2 separate regions of the Homo sapiens genome follow, and region 2 is linked to region 1. Evidence: promoter capture Hi-C in human tissues and cell types (Jung and others, 2019). All regions are on one chromosome and are shown on one strand. The core of a region is centred on a gene start or on the middle of the fragment in contact, and the rest is flanking DNA. Distances in the headings are between cores, read along the strand shown.

Region 1 (7,392 bases), core at 3,034-5,533:
TGGTGGCATGCAACTGTAATCCCAGCTACTCAGGAGGCTGAGGCAGGAGAATCACTTGAACCCAGGAGAAGGAGGTTGCAGTGAGCCAAGATCATGTTACTATGCTCTGGCCTGGGCAACAGAGCGAGGCTCTTTCAAAAAGAAAAAAAAAGAGAAAAGAAAGAGAGAAAGAGAAAGAAAAAAAAAAGAAAACCAAAGATTTCAGGCAGTATGATGCTAGCAGAGGGATAGACAAATGGAACAAAATAGAGGACCGAAAACAAACCTATATGTGTATAAAAATCCATTGTAAGAGAGTTCTGGCATTGCAAATGAAAGGAGAAATGAATTTCAGATAGAATGTGGACTTACACATGAAAGACAAAATTGTAACACTTGAAATAAAATATGGGAGAATATTTTTATATCCTTGGGGTCAGAAAGGACTTCTCAAAACACATGAAACAAGGCAAAAGACACCATCAATTAACAAAAGAGGAAACAGGACTAGCTATTAAACATTAAAGATGCTCAGCCATACTGGTAATTGGGGAAATACAAACTACAACTATTATGAGAGATCATTTAGATGAAAACAAGTGCTGGCAAAGATTGTGGGACATGGATGACTTTCTTTTTTTTTTTTCTGAGACGGAGTCCCGCTCTGTCACCCAGGCTGGAGTGCAGTGGCACGATCTCACTGCAAGCTCCACCTCCTGGGTTCACGCCATTCTCCTGCCTCAGCCTCCCGAGTAGCTGGGACTACAGGCGTCCGCCACCATGCCAGGCTAATTTTTTGTATTTTTAGTAGAGATGGGGTTTCACCGTGTTAGCCAGGATGGTCTCGATCTCCTGACTTCGTGATCCACCCGCCTCGACCTCCCAAAGTGCTGGGATTTACAGGCGTGAGCCACCATGCCCGGCCAGATGACTTTCATATACAGGTGTTAGAAATGAAAATTGGTATGACCACTTTAGAAAACAATTTTAGAAAACAACCAGTTTAGACAGTTTGACATTACCTAGTAAATTTGAACGTGCACTTACCTTAAGACCTGATGATTCCACTTCTAGGTATATATCCTAAAAAACATTCTTACACACATGTATCGGAGAAATATTTAAGAATATTCACAGCAACACTGTTTGCAATAGCAAAAACTGGAGCCAATCCAACATCCAAAAGTAGAATGGGTAATTAAATTGTGTTATGTTTTTACAACAAAATACCTATATAACAGAGAAATCAGATAGGTGAATCTCAGAAACATAATGCTGGGCAAAAGCTGCAAGTTGCATGGGAATAATGCAGAATGATTCTATTTTAAAAAAGCTCAAAAACACGCAAAAACAAACCATGTAGTGTTTAGGGACACATATATTTGTGATAACATAATTATTAACACAAAACTTAGGATGGTGGTTTCCTCTGAAAGAGAAGGATATGATTATAGAGCGGCAGATGGAAGGGTTCTTCCTTGAGTGGAAGCTTTAGCAAAGGCAGTTTCAGTGGAGTGGCAGGGATGGAAGCCAGAATGGTGTGTTGAAGGCTGCGTTGAAGCTAACAACATGAAAGACAGCTAATGCAGTCAGCTCATTAAAGACATGTTGTTGAAAATAGGAGCAGATTATATTATCACAAAGCAGTGAAAATGATCATTTGCAGAGCAAACTTCTTTCTCACAAGGCAGAAGGAGGGTGAGCTAGGGTGAATATAAGAGGCTGGCTGTGATTGAGCTGAACGTAGGGGCAAGAACAGAGCTGCAGCCTGGGAGCCCTTCTCATAAAGAGGGAGATTTAGGAGTCTTCTTCGTTGGTCGCCCAAAGACTGTCTGCCCACTTGGAGATAAGCAAGCAAGATCTCCAAGCAGCTCAGCCACTGCCTGCTTTGGCTCTCATGAGACCTCCTGCCAGGAATCCCCATTAATCAAAGTCTGGGAACAAAAGCAGACCAGTCAGTTCCCAGGAGCGCTCACATGTCTTGCAGGCTGGCTTGGGCTTTCTGTTTCTTTCGGGGTCATTGCTCTGACTACCCACAAATATAACTTAAAATCTCATCTCAATGTGACTTTCTGGTGATGTTTTAAAAGCCTATCAGGGAAACTGAGCATTTGCATCTTTGGAAGTTTATTCGAGGGACTAGCTAGGAAAACTCAATGTGGAAAAGTACAAGAGAGAAATGATCACATTGAAAGGTCATGTGGCTGGGCGCGGTGGCTCACACCTGTAATCCCAGCACTTTGGGAGGCTGAGGCAGGTGGATCACAAGGTCAGCAGTTCGAGATCAGCCTGACCAACATGGTGAAACTCCGTCTCTACTAAAAATACAAAAAAATTAGCTGGGCGTGGTGGCAGGCGCCTGTAATCCCAGCTACTTGGGAGGCTGAGGCAGGAGAATTGCTTGAAACCGGAAGGTGGAGGTTGCAGTGAGCCGAGATTGCACCACTGCACTCTAGCCTGGGCAATAAAAGCAAAACTCCATCTCAAAAAATAAAAAGAAAGGTCATGTGTACAAACTTTGACTTTGAGGGTTATCTAGGAACTCATTAGTAACCTGCCTGGAGAGAAACCTGGAGCTACAAGCCAGCAGAGAAAGGAAATGTGTTCTTCTATCAGCTCCAGGTGTAGAGCAACAGGAATGGGGCACAAATCTGAAGAAGGGCTGGGCGCGGTGGCTCACACCTGTAATCCCAACACTTTGGGAGGCTGAGGCCGGAGGATTACTTGAGCCCAGGAGTTCAAGACCAGCCTTGACCTCCTCTGTGTTAAACATAAAAAAATTAGCTGGGCATGGTGGTGCACACTTGTAATCCCAACTATTCAGGAGGCAGAGGCAGGAGGATTGCTTGAGCCCAGGAGTTCAAGACTGCAGTGGGCTACTGCACTTCAGCCTGGGTGACACAGCAAGGCCCCATCTTAAGGGGGAAAAAAAAGTCTGGAAAAGGCCAAAGGATACTCAGAAGAGAGATTTCACATCCTGTTAGGTAAAACTGCAGCTGTGACTATGGGGTTGGGAAAATTTCAGAAGCAGTAGGAGAAAATCAAGAACTTCCCCTTCCTAGTGTGGAAACAGGCTCTTGGGATCTCTCCTGCCTAATGATCCCTGAAGGAGAGAGGGAAACAAACATCTTAAGGAAAAGGAAGAAATCATCATGTTTCTTTTCTCCTGGAAACCAGGCCTGTTTCAGAGGGAATAAGAAAAGTCGGCTGGGTGCAGTGGCTCATGCCTGTAATCCCAGCACTTTGGGAGGCCGAGGCTGGAGGATCACGAGGTCAGGAGTTCGAGACCAGCCTGACCAATATGGTGAAACCCCATCTCTACTAAAAATACAAAAATTAGCCAGGGATGGTGGCGGGCACCTGTAATCCCAGCTACTCAGGAGGCTGAGGCAGGAGAATCACTTGAACCTGGGAGGCGGAGGTTGCAGTGAGCCTAGATGGTGCCATTGCACTCCAGCCTGGGTGACAGAGTGAGACTTCGTCTCAAAAAAAAATTTTAAGCAAGAAAGAAAAAAAAATCAGATTCGTGATAAGCTTGTCCCAAAACCTCAGGTAAGATTGATAGTCCATTTTAGGGTGCTGCTTGCCTCCTCTTCCATCTCTCCGCCTTTGGAGAGCAGATACCTGTCCATGCTTCTTCAAAGGGTGGAATGAGATCCCATCCATCTTACATGTATTCAACAGTAGCTTATTGAATGCTTCCTGTGTTCAGGGAGCTCTTCTAGGTATTGAAGAAGTGGCTGTGAATGAAAATAGACAAAACCAGACTGAGATAATGGTATGTAAAGTGTGATATGAATATGGGGGTCAGGCTCGCTCAATGCTTTTGCCATTTCCATATGGGATGATTCCAACAAGATACTTATAGTCAAGCTGTTAGAAATAAAGGCTTCCTTTCCCCTCTCCAGCTACCCCAATAAATCTGGGTCATTCATCATTGTTGTTCAGTTTGTACTGAGCAGCCCCAGTTAAGTGAGCTATGGTTATATTGAAATATCCACTTGGCCACGAATTGAGTGAAGGTGGGAGGTTCCTCCTGCTAATTCTCCTCCCCTCCCAATACACTTCCTGGCAACCCCCACGCGGAAAACCTCACCCTACTATAGGCCCCCTTCCTCCCACTCTTCAGAAGGCGGTGGCCCCACCCAGGAGAGGGCTGCAGATCGGGGCCAGCCCCAGGGCCTCCGCGGTGCCACCTCTCTCTCGCGAGGGTCCCTGCCGTGCCCCGGCTCGCCGCTGGGAGGCGCTGCGGCACCGGCGTAGGAGCCGCCGGCAGGGGTGGGGCGGGGCCGGCGGGACGGGGCAGAGGGCCCTGCGGCGGCGGACGCGGCGGGCTCGGCCACAGGTAACCCGCAGGAGCCGAGAGCGCTGCCTGGCGCGCGGGCGGCTGGAGGCACGGCGCTGGGCGGCGCCGAGGCCCTGGGGCCGCCGGAGCCAGCGGGAGCCAGTCCCCGTCTTCGCCCCTCGCCCCCCACCGTGTCGCCGGCCTTGGTCCCTGCGGCGCGGACGTCCGGCGCGGGAGAGAAAGGTACCAGGCGACCTCGCCGGCTCCCTGGGACCCCCGCTTACACCGGGGTGGGCGCCTCAGGTCGGGGAGGACGCTGTCGGGGGAAGGGGGCGCTGCTCCCTCGGCACCCCAGGATCGCCGACTGCCCGCGGAGGAGACCCGGACACCGCGCCTCGCCCCCTGGCCTGCGGCCTCCGAAAACGCCCGGCGCGAGGGGGTCCCCCCGGGGCGCCTCCCTCTTCGCCTGGCATCAGTTGCCTCCCTGGAATATGGAACTTCGGGCGAGGGAGGTGGAGAACTTTCTTCTGGGGCTCGTCCCTCGTTCTCCTGCTCGCTTGCAGTTTGAAGGAAGGGCGGTGGGGGCGGGGGTCCGAGTACCCCGCGGTCTGCGGCGCGTAGGAGGGTAGGTCCCTGGCCTGCGGCCGCCTCCGAATGACCCCGTCCCTCCCCGCCCTGGACGACAGCACTAGGGTGCAGTCGCAGGAGAGGGGCCGATACCCCTCAGGAGCCCCATCGGCGAAGCCTCAGCAAGTGGCATCTCCCGGGGTCCAGAGAGTCGGCGTGCTGTCTGGTTTGGGTCCAGACATCAGCTCACCCAAGCTTATCTTGGGCTTTTAAGTGTGTTGCTTCCGGTAGATCTCGGGGACTGGAGGGGAAGTGCAGCATTATTTGTGACCCAAGAGGGACTTGAATGTCTCAAAGCTGGTCAAGAATGTTTCCCCCGCGAGGTAGCATGAGATGGGTCACGTGGTAGTAAAGAGCCACTTCGGGCCCGTGAGATGGAGTTCTGACTCCACCACTTGTTAGGTGTGTGACTTTGGAAAACCCACTTCTTTAAACCTTAGTTTTTAGAACTCTAAACTGCAGGTATTGTACATAACCTCGTAGTATTGTGTTCATGCAGTGAAGTGATGGGAATGAAATGCTTGGCATTGTACTCTTGTGTGTTAGACACCTTTTGCGAACCTGTTGGATGTTGAATTCATTCATGCTTAGGTTCTGTTAGGCCAGTGTAAGTGGAAAGAACTTGGGCAATGAAGACAAACACACCTGGGTCCAAGGTGGTCCCATCCATGGTATACTGATTGGGGGTTTCTCATCCCCAAAACACCAATAGCAGCCTTGGCGGGGTTTTTGTTGTTGTTGTTTTGAGACAGAGTTTCGCTCTGTTGCCCAGGCTGTAAGCTTTGACCTCCTTAGCTCAACCGATCTTCCCACCTCAGCCTGGGACCACCACACCTGGCTAATTTTGAATTTTTTTATTTTACTAGAGACAGAGTCTCACTGTGTTGCCTAAGCTGGTCTCGAACTCCTCCTGTCTCAGCCTCCCAAAGTGTTGGGATTACAGGTGTGAGCCACTGTACTGGTCTGCAGCCTTGTTCTTGAGTGTAGTAGGTGTGTCTATACCGATACATGTTACACTTTGTCATCTTTAGTATTTGTTTAGCATATGGTAACAAAAAATTTTTTAAAAATTAGGGATACAAATTAAAATTGGGGAGTATTTTCTGCCCTCTAGGTCATACTGGACATGGGGGAAGGGTAGAAGAGGGATGAAGAGGAATTAAAGAGACCAGAAAACAACTAGTCGCAGTGTTGGGAGGTATAAACCAATGGTAATTTTTAAAAATGTGAATTTATTAACTCCTTGTTTTTTCATGGTGGCACCAAAAATTAATCTTAGTCTCCCACTTAAACTCATCAGCCTCCCCAAAGCCTTTCCAGATAAGCATATGCTCCATGTAAAAGCAGACTGCCTGCGATCCAACTCAGCTTAGAGACAAGGCACACTTCCAACTCCCAAGGCCTCCTTCTTGTATAGAGATGCTGGTGCTGCCACTGTGAAATACATCATACACTCAGACAGTATAAACCTTAGAGTGCAATGTAAAGAATAACAATAGATCACACCCAAGTACGAGTCACCCGGCTGAAGAACTAGAACATCGCCAGGCCCCTGGAGCCCCTGAGTACCCCTCTCCATTGCCTTCCACTCACTTCTCGCCTCCCACCCAAGGAACCACTATTCTGGATGTTGTGTTAACTTTTTCCCTTGCTTATATGAAAAACCCTGAGGAAAGGAAGTTTCCCAACAAGCATTTCCACAATAACCTGGAGCATTCTTTATTTTTCTTTTTTTCTCAAGGAGCATTGTTATTGAACTTAAAAGCAGGCTATTGAGGGTAAGATACAAACCACAAAAAAGCCGAAAGTCTCAAAGTCGGGGGATCTTTTAGTCTCTGTCTTCTTCCAAGTTTCTCCTGTCTCCCTGGCACGGATCCCGAAGGTGTGTTCTGTCTGTGTAGGGGAGACCCAGTCTCTTCCAACATAGATTGATGGCTGTGATTTTAAAAGCTTTGCTTGAGTCCCTAAGAAGTGGGAAAACAGTAATTTGGGTGCGTGCGTTTTAGAAGTTTTTTTAAAAATGCAAATTATCCAGAAGGCATTGTGTGGGATTTGAAGGATTAAGCTAAGAGTGACCTTTAAAAATGGTTTTAACAACCCAAATTCCTCTTCCTGGTTGATATGTTTGTGTTATTGTCTTTGTTTTATTTCTTCAAGGTCACATGGCTTTCCTTGGTGAATCTTACACTGTTTTGTTACTTCTTGGTTAAGGCAAAGATTCTGAAACTTGGTTTCATGGAGCCCTTAGTGTCTGAGTTAATTTTTTCACAATTCCCTTAGGCTTCAGTAGTTAGTAATTTTTTCACAATTCCCTTAGGTTTCAGTAGTTAGTAGTTAGGTTCAAACAACTGAGTATTTACTTAGAAGTTGTTTGAAAAAATAATATACATAAACTGAGAGAAAAAATATTTTACATCCTTTAAAGTCATAATTACTAACCGTATGTGTGTGCCTATACTACTTTTCAAACCTTGGGATCGTGTTGGACACTGCCACTCTCA
Region 2 (7,392 bases), core at 2,576-5,075, 66 kb after region 1:
GCTCATTATAATTTATTGCATTCAGTAAATTGCATTTATCAAACACCAGCCCTTTGCTGCATGCTGTCTAGGACACTTTTTGTTTATTTCATTTTACCTTTACAACCACCTGCAAGTTATAGGTATTATCTCTGTTTTTTTTAGGTGAGGAAACTGAGGCTCAGAAAGTTTCTGACTTGCGCACATTCTCTTGTGTAGTAATTGTGGCATCAGGATTTGGAGTCCATGCTGTTGACCCCAGTGTACATGTTCATATGCAATTCCATGGGCCCCCAAGAAAGAGAAAGAATCCTGGAGCTAACTGGTGGCCACCTTCAGTCTTTAGGACATCTTACTAAGCCTGTCTCCCATCTACAAAATGAAGACTCCGGAGTTGTGCTTCTCCAGGTCTCAGGAACACTGACAATGGGGATTAGCAAGCTTTTTTCCACACTGCCCCCCCCCCCACCATAATTAAAGTACTTAGGAATTTCCTTTGGGAAGACAATGTTTGAATGAATAACAGAACAGAATTCTGCCTGTGAAGGGGTGTGAGGTCTTCTAGGGTACGCCGTAAGTGAGGTTCTGTTGGAATGATTAAATGGCAGAGGGCAGAGTAAATTACCAGCTGGGATCCTGTTGATAACAAGCTTGCAGGAAACTCACTGAAGTCAACGTGTAAACACAGAGATGTGGGCAGAGATATGCCGGTAGTACCGTCGGGACCAGGCCCAGGAAGTCTGTCTTTTCTCCCTTTGCCCTTTCAGGGATGTGCCCTGGGGAAAGATAAAATTAATTAATTAATTTATTTATTTATTTTGAGATGGAGTCTCTCTCTCTTCTCCAGGCTGGAGTGCAGTGGTGCGATCTCGGGTCACTGCAACCTCCTCCTCCCGGGTTTAAGCAATTCTCCTGCCTCAGCCTCCCGAATAGCTGGGATTACAGGCACCTGCCACCACACCCAGCTAATTTTTTGTATTTTTAGTAGAGATGGGGTTTTGCCATGTTGGCCAGGCTGGTCTCAAACTCCTGATCTCAGGTGATCCGGGAGAAAGATAAAACTTAAATCCTACTGTCTGTTTTCAAGTGACAACAAACTTTTATTATGTTTCAGAATTTGGAAAACTTAGGTCTGCAAATAAGAAGTTTGTCATAACATCTAAGCATAAACACTCACCTTTATTGTTTAATAGAGCATCTGAGAATATTGATGAAAAATTATTCCACTTCTTACTTTGCAGCAGCCAAAGCTTCTACCCCAAACAGAATGTCCCCTGCTCTGGGTGAGTTTATAGCTTCTTCTTTTCTGTTTTGTATAAATTCCAACTTGTCAGGGATGCTTTCTCTCTGAACTTTCAAATTAATTGTTTCCCTCCTTATCAGGTAGGTTTGATCTGAGGTGATTATGAACAGATTAGATTCTCCCAAAAGTTTAAAAAACAAACAAAAAATTACTTTGCAACAAAAACCAGGTTTCCATTCATGGTTTTCTGAATCTACAAAAATTACTTTGGTACAGGCTGATCATTTAGGATATTTAAAATTGAATTTGAAGCTTTAAACTACTATTTCTTTATTCATCCATTCATTCACTCAGCATACCTGTCTCCTGCTTTGTGACTGTTATCCTCCTTGTCCTGGTAAGTTCCTACCTCCTGGTGAGTTCTGCTGCGTAAAGTAGGGGCTGACTGCTTCAGCTGGACCAAAAACAGACCTCTGTTTCCTTTTTTCTTTTTCTATTTATAATTTTCTGCTTTGTAGGAAGACTACAAGAAATGGTATATATGACTAGATGCTGCTTTTCCACAATAATAGGGGATCTTTGAAATCCTAGGAAACTGTCTTGTTTTCTAAATTGTGTCTTTTAAACACTTTACCTGCAAGTCTTGTCTTCCTAAGTGTAGTATTAGCAAATAACAGTGGATATGTTTTTTTCTCTCTCTCTCTCTGTGTATCTGTGTATCTTCAGAGCTTTCGAATTTTAAAATAGTTTTATTAAGGTATAATTTATATATCATAAAATTTATCCATTATAACTATGCAGTTTGGTGATTTTTAAAGTAATTTCACACAGTGTGCAACCATCATCAGAATCCAGTTTGAGAACGTTTTCATTACTCCAAAAAGTTTCCTAATGCCATTTAGTGATCAGTCCCCACTACCACCCCTAGCTCCAGGCAACCATTGGTCCCCTTTCTGCCTCCATAAATTTGCCTTTTCTAGACATTACATATAAATAGAATCAGATAGTATATGGTTTTTTGTTTCTGGCTACTTTCATTGCGCATAATGTTTTTGAGGTTCATCCACGAAGTATATGTTAATATCAGTTCCAGAGGGATTTAAAACAAATAAAAACAAAACTTTGAATTGTGGCAAATTTCACAATTAGACTAGTGTAAGTCACCCACAAGTACCTCACTCCCAGATTCAGTAATTATGAAGCCATGGTCAGTCTTACTCCCTCTTCCACCCACTTTTCCTACTTCTTTGGGTTATTTTGAAGCTAGTGTTATTACTTTATAAATATTTTAATATATGCATTTGTACTTATCTCATTCTTTTCTATAGCTAAGGAGCAAAATACTTTGAGAACATGTGGCTACCTAGGTAAGGGGGAAGGTAAGAGAACTAAACATTAAATTAAAATATAAAATTCTTGCTATGTTTAAGGCACTACCTATGACAATCTGGGATATAATGATGTATAAATCTTATATATCTGCTAGGTCTGTAATATATAATTATAGTACTTAATTCAAACATCAGTCTGTGCAGATAATAGATTTCCCTTTATATATATATATTTTTTTTTACCTTGTTTACATTTTGCTTTTATTCTAAATGCCAAGTTTTGTTTTGTTTTAAGGGTAGAGAGAGATGTGTTATAGAGAATGATGTGAAGTGTTCTCTTGAAACCTGCTATGCAGAGAAGTGAACACGGATAATTTCAAATTTGCTAATCTGAAATTGTGACCAAGGTGAGAATACAATCCGGTCATTGTTTCTGTTGATTTGGGAGCCCAGTTTGCTATGGATTAGATGGATTCTTTGAATTAGAATAAGCAAGGAGAAATAAGCTCCTGAATAGCTTTGTGGACCATTCATTAATGTTTTCATAATTATTGAGTATGAGATATGTGCCAGCTTCTTTGCAGAATGTGAGCACAATTGGATGAAGATTCCTGAGGTAGATGCTTGAGGTTGGCTTTCTCAGGGCCCATTCCCAACCACTCTCTCACTTGCCTTCCTCTACTGTTGAGACTGGAAATCTCAATGTTCAATTTTCCTAACCACCTTCCAGCCAGGAGTGGTTATGTGATATAGTTTGGCCAAGCACAAGTCTGTAGGGAAAGGTCTCCCTTCCTGAATAAAAAGACATATCTAAGGTAGAAAAAGACTTTGCCTTCTTCCTGTCTGGACCTGGATGTAACACCCGGATGTAGAGCAGCCTTTTTGAAAACATGAGGTGACATAAGGATAAAAGCCATCACATTAAGGCTGGCAAAATTTAGAAATAAAAGGAGCCTAAGTTTCTGAGGGTAATGGTAAACTGTCACCAACTGTAGACTGCCTTCTCCAGGACTTATTCATATGGGCGAAAAAGAAGCCTCTATTTTGTGAGGCCTGGTGAGCCTGCTTTTTTGTTACTTGCAGCTGATTACATGCTTCATTGATACTTATGTGTTTGTCACCTTTTTGCCACCTCAGAGCACTGTCACGCCTGATGCCATTCTGGTCTAGTCATCTAGTCATGGACTTGAGGAATTTTAGGGATAGGAAGTCCTAGACATTATCTAGTTTAACGTTTCTCAACCAGTGGGTTGGGGTCGCAGTGCTGGGGGGAGGGTGCTACTGTTATTTAGCACCTGCAGGCCAGGGGTGCCAATAGCTTGTATTGTGTGAGACAGTGCCGTACCACAAATGTTCCTGTTCACAATACCAGTTCATAATGCATGGTAAGAAACGTTAGTCTGCTTCCGTGATTTAGTCCTACACAGAGCAAGCCACCCAGGGCTCTTGAGACACTGCTGTACTGACTTGGACAACCTAAACACCCTCACGGTCCCCTTTCCCTGCTGCTCCTCAGTTTAGCCTGTCTTCCCTTTCAACTCTGTTATGATGCCCACTTTGATTCCTCAAGACTTCAGCATCAAAACAGCATTCCAAACAGAAGACAAATGCACTGCAAACCAAAGAGTAATGGAGACAAAAAGCATGAAATGCCCACTGAAATCCCTAAAGCCTCTATAAAATCGTACTCTGAAAAGCCTCCGAGGCATCTGGGCTTATAATTTGTTCACTGTCTCTCCAGATTCCATCACACCCCAGTTTTATGAGGCCTGGGCTTGGGGTGATGTGAATGGTCACCTTTCCCACCTCTGGTGGCTCTTTTATCTTGCTCCAGTTGATGACCTTGATGCTTCTAGAGGAAGGAAGCAGAGGCTTCTGTCACTGAGACAGCTTCTGGTCACTTGAGCAACACAGGGGCTAAGTTCTAGAGCTCCCAGCCCTGCCTCCCAGGAGAGAGCCACAGATCACTCACTCTCCTTTTTTTCTTCCCCTTTACTTGGAGGTGGAATTCCAAGCAGAGAAGCCAGAGGCTGCCTGTGCTGTGATATTGAAGATAGAAATACTACCCTGAAGTTCCTGGCATGAAAAATATCACAGTACAGGCAGCCTCTGGAAATGGAATGAATATACCATGGTTAGAAAAATGCATCAGGCTGCAAAATTTTCACCAGGCAGTCCTACTATTAATAATGTCATATGATATATTTTTTAATAAAGCAATACATTAAAAAACGAATAGTAACTGGAATTGAAAAAGTCCTGGCTGTATCACCAGATGTGTCTTCTTCAGTAAGCCATTGAATTTCTGAGAGTTCTCAGAAATCGTGTAATGGGGGAAGAGCCTAACGCCCTCCTCCCAGGTCCCTAATCTCCCAGGAGATTAAAGGGGCTGTGGGATGGGAAAGCACTTTGGAAATTGTAAATAGCTACAACAAAGTTAATTGCTATTCTCATTAGAGCTATGAGGCTTTTAGTGGCTTTAGGCATTAATAATAGATGAGCTAGCATCCAGGACTGTGGGCCGTAGTTTTAAGTTTCTGTTGATTCTTGTTGTATTTTGATTTATTAGGTCCAACTTAATCTATTTCAGGCCAAGGCAATGGGTTGTGAGCTGAGTAAATAATAAAGATAATGTGATGCACTTAACACAGTCAGAAGAGGACTGTCCCCAATTAGTCTTTTTTTTTTTTTTTTTTTTCTAGCACAGAAAAAAGCACAGCTCTTACTGTATCTGAAAGACACTTTGGTAGGAATGCTCATCAAGACGGGGCTTGCACCTGAGGCCATTTCTTAGGAGTAGCTTTTGCCTGCATCATAATTTCAGAACATGTGATACTTGGGATGCTTTTCGTCATTGAGGTTTACTTGTCTTTATATGGAACATAATTTGTACCTGCAAAATCAAGACTTAACGATTAATTGTTTTCCCTTATGGAAGCCTAAGGCTTGTTTCTACGTATTTCCAGGGTTTTGTTCTTTAAGGAACACATGCTTATGAAAAAACACAAATACTTTCAGCAAAAAGTCTTCTGTGTCTCCCTTCCTCAAGTTGAGCTTGGAGTCAGTGGAGCTCTGATCTGCATTTGCATTTGAGAGGGATGCCTTCTTGGCAAATACAGCATGCCAGATATGTCAGTATTGGGTTGCTTGGAACTCCTTAAGCTTACTTAAACATTCTTTAGAAACACATTCCTTTGAAGAGCTCAGCAGAGCTCCCAGCCACGAGAATGCTAGGCTTATTCACAGCGTGGCTTTTACTCTCTGTAACTAATCCACAGCACATCTCTCTGGAAGGAAGCAAAATTTAGCAAGTTGCCTGTTGATTGTGTACCATACAGTATTTTTGCATTAAAGAAAACTACTTATTTCAGATACCTGGGGAGGGGCTTTATGGATAACATCCATGTGGAGATGCTTGAAAATACTGTTTGTTACACCAAAGTGAATGGGTGTTTTGTGCTTGTGTGATGCAGTAACTATGATTCTTATTTCATTTATTTCTCATTTAGAAGGTGTCGTGGTGCTAAGTCTCTGATACAAGGAGTTATCTTAAAAAAAAAAAGGCAGTGACTTGAACTGAGTGGTAGGAATAATAATATGTCCCATCTCATCACCTCCCCACAGGATTTATGTGTTCTTTTAATGGGTCTGGTTTGTGGATCGTTTCACCTTCATTGGTTTCCAGCTGAAAGTGCTGGTGGGCAGCTGCTGCAGATGATTAACACTTTCACCTAGCCTCCCATATTCTTATTGTTAACATTAAATTACACTTGCCTTAAATCTCTTTTTATTCAGTTTCTTCATTGGTTGTTAGATGTTTGTAACTTTTTTCCCCCAAGGTCCACCATGTTTCTTCATAGCAACCATGGTAATTATTAGGATAGTAGGCATATCTGGGGTTTACACTGCCTGTTTATTTGAAAAATATTTTTTCAGTTTCAGGTATATAGTTATTTCAAATAATGTAACATTGCCATACTTAACGTAACTATAATAAAAATAACTTAACCATAATTATCTCATGCAGAATAATCATTTGAACATTCCAAAGGTGATATAAAGAGAAATAGACTGGGCATGGTGTCTCATGCTTGTAATCCTAGCACTTTGGGAGGCTGAAGCAGGTGGATCGCTTGAGCCCAGGAGTTCGAGACCAGCCTGGGCAAGGTGGCGAAACCATGGCGAACCTTTATTTAAAAAACATGGCAAAGCGTTATTATTTAAAAAAAAAAGGATAAAGGGAAATAGGTCCAAATCCCTATCTACTAAAAGCTTACAGCCTAGTCTTATTTATTTTTTAGAAGAGTCTGGGCCAATGAATACTTTTTAAAAAGTTGGCTTTTAAAGCATATGCAGATTTGATCCTTGCTTTCCTTACCTGACGGGACCCTTTTTGAGCTTTTGGCTATTGTCAAGAAAATATAGCAATTAAATCCCATTATGATAATAGCTATGGAAATGTAGTACTTACAGTGGCAGGTACTATTCTAAGTGTTATTTATGTTAATTGATTTAAATTTAAAAATACAGAGATCTTCACTTAGGGTATGACAAGATAAATTTTATTCCACCAAGGGGACTGGGGTGTGGAGGTGGGGGTTGGCTGGTTCTAACAGGATTTCCCCCATCCTTTGCTGCAGCTGCTTCTATTTCTATATAACTCTGGGCTGTAACCCCTCCACCACACCCTCTGCACCCTCCCTATAGTGCTGCCCCTTCCAATGTCTCTTTCATCCTGCAGGCAGCAGGGTTCTTGGCTTGGACTCACACAGTTCTTTCAGCCAGAACCAGAGGTAATCTGCAGAAGCTATAATATCTCACTGAGGTTAGTAATTGGAA

The links. The method cuts DNA at HindIII sites, captures the fragments that hold promoters and counts their contacts. A contact is called where the count stands out against the background at its distance.
Region 2: a fragment that was not itself captured here is called in contact with the fragment with the promoter of ANKRD6 in region 1 in 2 of the 25 tissues and cell types used here (aorta and heart left ventricle).

Annotation. Positions count from the first base shown.
Region 1 is chr6:89,428,869-89,436,260 of GRCh38, forward strand. ANKRD6 (ankyrin repeat domain 6) reads left to right here and starts at 4,284. Exons shown (of 16, transcript NM_001242809.2): 1 at 4,284-4,507. LOC124901360 (a long non-coding RNA gene) reads right to left here. Exons shown (of 2, transcript XR_007059675.1): 1 at 4,549-7,392; 2 at 1,340-3,719. RefSeq lists a silencer at 4,076-4,555. The HindIII fragment of the contact is 2,888 bases long and covers 2,491-5,378 here.
Region 2 is chr6:89,495,742-89,503,133 of GRCh38, forward strand. The region is part of intron 1 of ANKRD6 (ankyrin repeat domain 6); the gene reads left to right. Among named protein-coding and RNA genes, the nearest start is that of ANKRD6, 66 kb to the left of the region's middle. The HindIII fragment of the contact is 4,889 bases long and covers 1,382-6,270 here.